Linked DNA regions of Homo sapiens: region 2 is linked to region 1. Evidence: promoter capture Hi-C in 16 types of primary human blood cells and fetal thymus (Javierre and others, 2016). All regions are on one chromosome and are shown on one strand. Each heading gives the region's core, a stretch centred on a gene start or on the middle of the fragment in contact. The rest is flanking DNA. Distances are from core to core; before and after follow the strand shown.

Region 1 (4,188 bases), core at 530-3,029:
CTACCCAAAGGAAATGATGGGACTAACCGCCTTTGTTGATCTCAAGTAAGACATGCTAACACTAAAGAACTATTTTCAAAGACAAGGTGATCATTTCACAGAGGATAGAAAACCCAAAACTCTCACAAACCCCATGCTTAGAGCCCCTTTAATCCTCTGATGTGTATCTGTGAATCCTGAGAGTCTAGGACTCATCACGTCATCAAAATAGTCCACTTTCAGTAGAAACCTGAGAGCAGAGAAGGTGACAGCCTCATCTCATTGCTTGGCATTGTTTGTGAGAGAAAGCAAAGAAAGTGAGGAAGCCTTTATATCGTGCTATTTCTTTTCCATGGCAATCAAAATAATTAAAGCGCAGTTCAGCTGAGGACAGGCAAGTGTTCACATACACACTATTCCCACAAACATATACTCTATTTTAAATACACACACAGCCTTTTTTTCACGAAACAAACTTTTTAGCAAACAAAATAAGTTATAATATACTTTTAAGAATATAGCTTGGGTAGAAAGAGTTTGTACTAAAAAGCCTGCAACTTATTATTTTGAAAATCTTGATCCAAGGATCTACATTTTTAAAATAGAGTAGATAATATCTACCTGTATTTTTCATTTTTTCATTCTGTGCCTCTAAATTCCATTTAGAATTTTGAAGTCATGTTGTACCACCCAAATCAAGATAATTTTATTCATCTAGTTAGATTTTCTTCAGTGAAAAAATTACAGGTGATCTTAATTTATGATGAAGTTATGTCCCCATAAGCCTATAGTAAGTTGAAAATGCATTTAATGCACCAAACATCATAGCTTAGCATAGTCTACCTCAAATGTTCTGAGAACACTTACATTAGCCTCCAGTTGGGCAACATCATCTAACACAAAGCCTATTTTATAATAAAATGTTGAAAATCTCATGTAATTAATGGAATACTACACTAAAAGTGAAAAAAATAGAATAGCTCTGTAGGTACTCAAAGTATGGTTACTATTGAATTTGTATCACTTTTGCACCACTGGAAAGTATGAAAATAGTAACTCAAACCACGGTAAGTCGGGGATTTCCTGTAGTAAAAGGAGGTGGTAATATGTACCTAGCAGAGAGTTGTTATTTCACTTCTACTAGAGTGTAACAATTAAGAATACATAGCTATAGGCCGGGTGTGGGGGCTCACACCTGGAATCCCAGCACTTTGGCAGGCTGAGGCAGGTGGATCACTTGAGCCCAGGAGCTCAAGACCAGCCCAGGCAACATGGTGAAACCCCATCTCAACTAAAAATACAAAAAATTGTCCAGGCATGGTGGTGCACACCTGTAGTCCCAGCTACTCAGGAGGCTGAGGTGGGAGAATCACCTGAGCCCAGGAAGTCGAGGCTGCGGCGAGCGGAGATGGCAGCACTGCACTCCAGCCTGCATTGACAGACTGACACCCTGTTTCAAAAAAACAAAAACAAAAACCACCACAACAAAAAACTCAGAATACACAGCTATGTATCAGGAATTATATGCTACCTTCCAAGGTCCCCAGTGGATGCCTGAAACCATGGATAGTATCCTACTCTATATACACTACGGTTTTTCCTGTACATATGTACTTAAGATAAAGTTAATTTATAAATTAGGCACAGTAAGAAATTAACAACAGTAACTAACAATAAAATAGAACAATTATAACAATACATTGTAATTAAAAATATGCAAATATGGTATCTTTCTCTTTCAAAATATCTTATTGTACTGTACTCACGCTTCTTATGATGATGTAAAATGGTCAAATGGCTACGTGATGGGATGAAGTGAGGGCAATAACACAGGTATTGTGACGTAGATGGAAAATTCCAGAAATAAACAACTCTTAAGTTTCAAACTGTGCACTGTTCTGAGTGGTGCGATGAAATCTCTTGCCCTCCTGCTTCGGCCCACTGGATGGCAATGAGTCACCACGTAGTCACCTTGGCGATTAGAGCAACTGTTGCAGTATTGCAGTGCTTGTGTTCAAGTGACCCTTATTGTACTTAATAGTGGCCCCAAAACACAGGGTAGTGATGTAATATTTTTGAACTATAGTTGACCCCGAGTAACTGAAACTGTGGAAAATGAAACTGCAGCTAAGGGAAGACTACTTTACTATACATCTAGACGTGTACTGATTATACAAAATGGTAAAATATTATTAGCTATAACTGTAACATGGACTAAGTCAAGTTGTTAGCATAATAATTTCAAGTTACATGATTCACCCATGTATATGTAAAAGTCTTCCCAAAAGGCTTAGTGAAATTGTAAGATTTAATATTTTTAGAAGTATAAACACTACAGACTTTTATATAAAAGTTTCAAACAAGTTTTATTTAAAAGTGTAATGACTTACATTTATTTTTCATTTATATAGCTTTGTTAATTTAGAGTAACACATTTTAAAATTTTTAGTTTTTAGTTCCTCTGGTTGAAGATGGGAAGCGTTGACTGAAACAAGAAATTAAGTCTTTTCGGACAACTTGAATTTCCAACTTGGGCATAATTATTAAAATGCTTAGTAGATAACTTCAGGATTGTGGCTGTGGCCATTACCAAATTTGAAAGAAAAAAGTGACTTGAAATGAAAGTGCATTGCAGTTCCAGTAACAAATAGATGATAAACTTTATTTATCTTAAGTTTAATTTATTCAGAAACTTACAGAAAAGCTGGAGTTACTATAAAAATATTTTTTTTCCTGAATCAATAGGTTACTGCTTCACTCCTTCATGTATATTTCTTACAACCAAAATATTTTCTACATAAATACAACAAGCCATCAAAGTTGAGAAATTAACAATGATAGCATCTAATCTTCAGACTCCACCCAAGTTTTGCCAATTGTCCCAGTAATGTTAGTCTTTTATGGCGAAAGGAACCAGTTCAGGACCACACACTACATTCAGTTGTCATGTCTCTAAGCTCCTTCAGTCTAGAACAGATCCTCTGTCTTTCCTTGACTTTCATGACCTTGAGACTTGGATATTATTTTTGTGACATGTCCCTCAGTTTGTTTTTTCTTCATTATTAGATTCATGTTATGCAGTTTTGTTAGAAGTATAACAAGAGTAACAATGTAGTTTGTCATTTCATCTTATTAAATGGAATAAAATTTCTATTTATTCCACTGCAATGGAATATCATTGGAATTCATCACTTGATGAAGGTGACATCTGCCAGGCTTTTCCACTGTAAATTACTCATTTTGCCTTCATTATTCAACTGTACTTTGTGGGAAAGTACTTTGAAATTATGTAAATACCCTTCCTCATCAAAATTTTAATTGTTATTTAGCTCATGATTTCTTATTTTATTCCCTTATTGCCTTTATTATTATGATTCTCAAATTTTCCCACATTTGGCCAGTGGGGTTCTCTTCAAGCTGGCTTTTGTGCCCATTTGGTATGTCCCAATTATTTTTTTAGTACTTCCTTGCTTTTTGCTTCAAAAGATGTTCCACTTTTAATTGCCCCTTTCCCTTCCTGTCCTGGCCCTGAAATCAGCCATTTCTTCAAGGAACTTTGGGTTCTTTAGTGGAGAATGGCATCTAGAAGCCAAGATATGGGCAATAGCTGTGCTCATTATTAGGGTTGTCTTAGTTTGAGCTGCCATAACAATATACCATAGACTGGGTGGTTTAAGCAGTAGACATTTATTTCTCACAGTTCTGGAGGCTGGAAGGTCCAGTATCAAGGTGCCGACAGCTTCGGTTCCTGGTGAGAGCACTCCTCCTGGCTTGTAGGCAGCCGCCTCCTCTCTCTGTGTTCACATGCCATTTTTGGTGCATGCACACGGAGGGTGAGAGAATGCTCTGGTGTCTCTTCCTCTTCTTGTAAGGGCACTTATCACATCATGTGGGCTCCAACCTTAAGACCTCATCTAAACCTAAATACCTCCCAAAGTCCTCACCTCCAAATACTATTACCTTGGGGGTTAGAGCTTCAACATATGAATTGTTGGGGGATACATTCAGTCCATAACTAGGTGTTACTGCTGCTACTGTCTCTCAGGAGGGAAGCTAGAGTCTAAATCCATTAGGTTGGTGCAAAAGTAATTGCAGGTTTTGCCATTACTTTTACTCTTTCTCTATCTCTATATAAATAGAGATAGAGATGATGTAGATATAGCTATATTAGGTTGGTGCAAAAGTAATTCTGGTTTTTGCCACTAAAAG
Region 2 (4,188 bases), core at 857-3,356, 370 kb after region 1:
GACATAAGATGCCAGAGATACAATGATGAGCCTTGGTCAAAAGAAAAAAAAATGTTTTTTTGGTTTTTTTTTTTTGCAGAAGTTTACTTACAAGTATTAAGTCACAGATACTCCTGATAGGAGGCAAATATGCTTCTTGTTTTTTCACCTCTTGGTAGAACTTTATATGTAGTCTTATCTGACTTTACTCCAATAATTTAATATTTGTAAAAGGGATTCAGTATAGAGCCTTATATCGATACTGTGCTATCAGTTTTTAGAAATAAAATGAACAAGGCAGCAAGCTGAAAGAAATACTTCTATTGGTTGTTACTGAAAAGTAGTTAGTTTTCAGCATCTCTTAAGAAAGAATGCGACTTGCTTAGTCCAGTCAGAGAGGAAAATTCTATACACAAAATCCATCAAAGCCATTGTGAGAGGACTTGTTTGCCTGGAGACTGCAGGGTTTTTCTTTGAATAGCCTCCTTCAGGAAGCTGTACATTTCATTAGTTAAGATTCTGCTTTTGAGGGAAGAGTAATCCAGTCATCTACAGTCTCTAAAATTATGTCCAATTAACCACTGGTAAGCATTAACTAAGAAGAAAGATTTGCTGTCAAAATTTACTCTATTAAAATTGGAATTGAAAACTGTAACAATAAAAACTCTAAGCTTTCTTAGAGCCATGTTGTATTATTTGAAAGCACCAGAAAATCTGTTCAGAATCTCTAGTGTAGGAATGCTGAGCTTTTTCTCTGGAGGAGAGCACATTTATGAGTGTTGGCTGAGGGCTCGCTCAGTCTGGGGGTAGGTCACAGGGTGAAATGGAGATTAGCTCAGCACTCATTCTGCTGGCTCTGTTGGCAATGAGATTTTATTTTCTTTACTCTTAGATTCTGTGGGGGAAATTGAGGGTGATATTCAGATGAGTTGAATGCCAAGTATTTGGAAAACCGTGAGAGTTCAACAGTTTCTAAGAGCCCCAATCATTCTGAGCGTTTTGATTGTGCCAGTAATTGTAAATCTCGTTTTAGCAGCCTGCACACAGAGGCTCCACAGAAGACAATGATTCCTCAGAAAAGCTCTATTTGTATTACCTGTACTGAATGAACATGGGCTTTGCTAGATTATTTTATTCTTCTCTCAAATTTAAACTTAAACCCATTGAGTGAATCTTCTAAAACTTGTAATCTAGCAAAAACTTTGAATCTGCAATTTAGCAAAGACTTTGAATATGTTGATGCATAATATAGAACCATCTTACAGGCACTAATTTGAACAGAAAATGTAAGTGTAACACTAAGGGAAACCTATATGAAGATCCTGTGAGCAGGTGAGATTTAAAAAAAAATGTTGAGACAGATTTTTTTTTTTAATACTGGTCAATTATTGCTATTAGGGCAATTTGGGTTGCAAGTGCAGACATCTAAAACAAACTAGTTTAAGCAAAAAAGCAATTGATTATGGGTCCAGCCATGGCTGGATCCAGGGCCTTAACAATATTGTTAGCAATCAGTCTCTCTTACACCTTGCTGCCTCATTCCCCATCTCTGCTCTGCTTTCCTCTATGTCAACTTCATTCTCAGGCAAGGCATTATTTTCGTTGTTTTGGAAAGATAGTCTTCAGTAACTCTGGGTCTAATTCGACCCAGCTAGTAACCTTAAGGAAAAAAAGATTGCCTTCTTCCCAGTGGTTTTAGGAAAAGCCATCCATAGGAATGACATTGATTGGCTTGGCTGGGAAGGGGGTCGGGCCTGCATCTCAGGAAACAAGACTCATATGTAATCATAAAATGTGGGGGGTGCATCCCAGAATGCTGAATTGTATGCGGTTAGCAAAAGAAGAGAGAAAGGATGTCAATTGGGTAAATGTAACAGGTTGCAAGAGTTAAAGTTCAAGTTATATCTAGGGTCAAGATTTTATTGCAATCATTTGTGTGGAAATAAAGTAGATGAGAAATAGTCTCAACCATTTTCATGGAGAAATGCAGCATAATTCCTACACAACTGTAGCTCCAGCAGTCTGACTGCAACTCTGGAGCAAAATAGCCACTCTAAAAATTTGCCACATCTTGGAGTCTTAGAGTCTGGCATGCTTCCTCCTGTAGTATCCAACCATTATGGTGCTTCTGTTTCTTCTGTTTTTGTAGCTACTAACTCATTTCTGCTCTTCATTTGTTCATAGTTTCTATTTATCGTTCTCTCTTTCTGTGTTTGTCATCTTCTGTACTACTATTTTTGTTTTATATTGTATTAATTTCTACTTTCAACATATATTCTTTCTTCTATTTTGTTTGGAGTTTCTCTATGGTCCTTCTTCTAGCAATTTTTTAGTTGAATAGCTCATTAATTTTTCATCTTTCTTGTTTTGTAATATATGCAATTAAGGCTATAAATTGCCTTCTAAGTACTGCATTAGCTGTATCCCACAAGTTTTGACATGCAGTGCTTTCTATGTCATCCAGTTCTAAATATTTTATAATTCTCATTAAAATTTTATTGTGACTTAAGAAACATTGTTATGAAGGCTTATTATATATAAAGTGCATAATTAAGTGAATAACTCAGTGAATTTTACATATGTCTACACTTGTGTAGCTACTGCCCAGATCAAGATATAAAACATTTCCAGCAACCCAAAGAACTTTTCTATACCTCTTTCCCCAAAATACCCCCCAAGAGATAACCGCTATTGACTAATACCATGGATTAGTCTTACCTCTTCTTAATATCATCTAGAAGGAACCATGTGTCCCATTTTGTGACTGATTTCTTTCACTCATCATTATGTCTGTGAGATTTATTCATATTAAAGCAACAGGTTTTTTCCCCCTCTCCATTACTGACAATGAATATACTTATTTGTCCATTCTACTCTCAAGTCATATTTGTATTGCTTCCAGTGTGGGGCTATTATGAGTAAAACTAGTATGAAAGTTCTTATAAATGTCTTTTGCTGGACATTTTTACTCATTTCTGTTGGGAATATAGCTAGCAGTAGAATTTTTGAATTATAGAATAGACATATATTTAGCTTTATTAGATATTTCCAAATTGTTTTTCATAGTGGTTTTTACCAACTTACACTCCCACCAGTATATGTGTGAGAGTTGGTCATTCCACGTTCCATCATATTTGGTATTGTCAGTTTTTTTCTAAATTTTACTTATTTTGGTGTGAAGCGTAGTACCTTAATGTCATTCATGTTTCATTTACCTGCTGACTATAATTCTGAACTCCTTTTTATATGCTAATTGGTCATTTGCATATCTTCTTTTATGAAATGTTAATTCAAACCTTTTTCTGATTTCTAAATTGCATTATTGTCTTTTTATAATTGAGTTGTAAGAGTTCTTTGCATATTCTGCATATGTCTTTTAACAGATATATGTATTGTGAATTTCTTCTCTCAGTTGGTAGTTTGTCTTTTCACTCTCTAAATAATCTCTTTTTATTAACAAAAGTTTGTACTTCAATGAAATCTTTTTTTTTCTCTCATTGGCAGTGCTTTTAGTGTCCTGTTTAAGAAAGGTTTACCCTCCTCAAGGCCATGAAGATTCTCTTATGTATTTTTTAAAAGCTTCACTCTTTTACCTTTACATTTGTTTGTGATCCATTTTATACTGATTTTTTATATTGCATGACAAAAGTATCAAGATTCATTTTCTTTTCCAATTCATGTCATCTGCAAATAATGACGATTTTATTACTTCCATTCCAAACGCTATACCTTTTATTTTTTCTCTTGCCATATTGTACCCATGAATGTTTTTGTAGTGTTTTTTAAAATTTCAAAACATATGAGGGTTTCTAATCTCCTTTTAACGTTGGTTTCTAATTTTGCTGCACTCTTTTCGGAGAACAAGCTGTATAGCATCCATTCTTAGGAATTTATTAAGCCTTGTTTTGTAGCCTTGTACACTATACATTTTTGCAAATGTCACATGTTTGCTTGGTCTCCAGACCCATTCATTCTACCTGTAGAGAAAGATATAGAGAGATGTTGCTCATTTAAGGCATTTGCCGTATCTTGCAGGATAGCCCCCTAACCTTGAAGGTGCTTTCTTTTAGCTGGTGCCAAAATTGTGAGGTCAGCAGGCTATTCTGCTCTTCTGGTGATCCAGCTCCTTTTTGGAGATGGGCAAGACTAGTGAATTCCAGTGGTGTGAACGCATTGTCATACTTTCTTTGCAGTAGTATGAATCATTCC

Evidence for each region. The method cuts DNA at HindIII sites, captures the fragments that hold promoters and counts their contacts. A CHiCAGO score of 5 or more calls a contact.
Region 2: a contact is called between a fragment that was not itself captured here and the fragment with the promoter of ARL14EPL in region 1, in 2 of 17 cell types (naive CD8 T cells and naive B cells). The highest score is 6.3, in naive CD8 T cells.

Annotation. Positions count from the first base shown.
Region 1 is chr5:116,030,063-116,034,250 of GRCh38, reverse strand. ARL14EPL (ARF like GTPase 14 effector protein like) reads right to left here and starts at 1,779. Exons shown (of 4, transcript NM_001195581.2): 1 at 1,746-1,779. RefSeq lists an enhancer at 2,135-2,184. The HindIII fragment of the contact is 15,754 bases long and covers 1-4,188 here.
Region 2 is chr5:115,658,004-115,662,191 of GRCh38, reverse strand. All of the region lies in intron 3 of LOC102467217 (a long non-coding RNA gene), which reads left to right. Among named protein-coding and RNA genes, the nearest start is that of TMED7-TICAM2, 34 kb to the right of the region's middle. The HindIII fragment of the contact is 2,908 bases long and covers 653-3,560 here.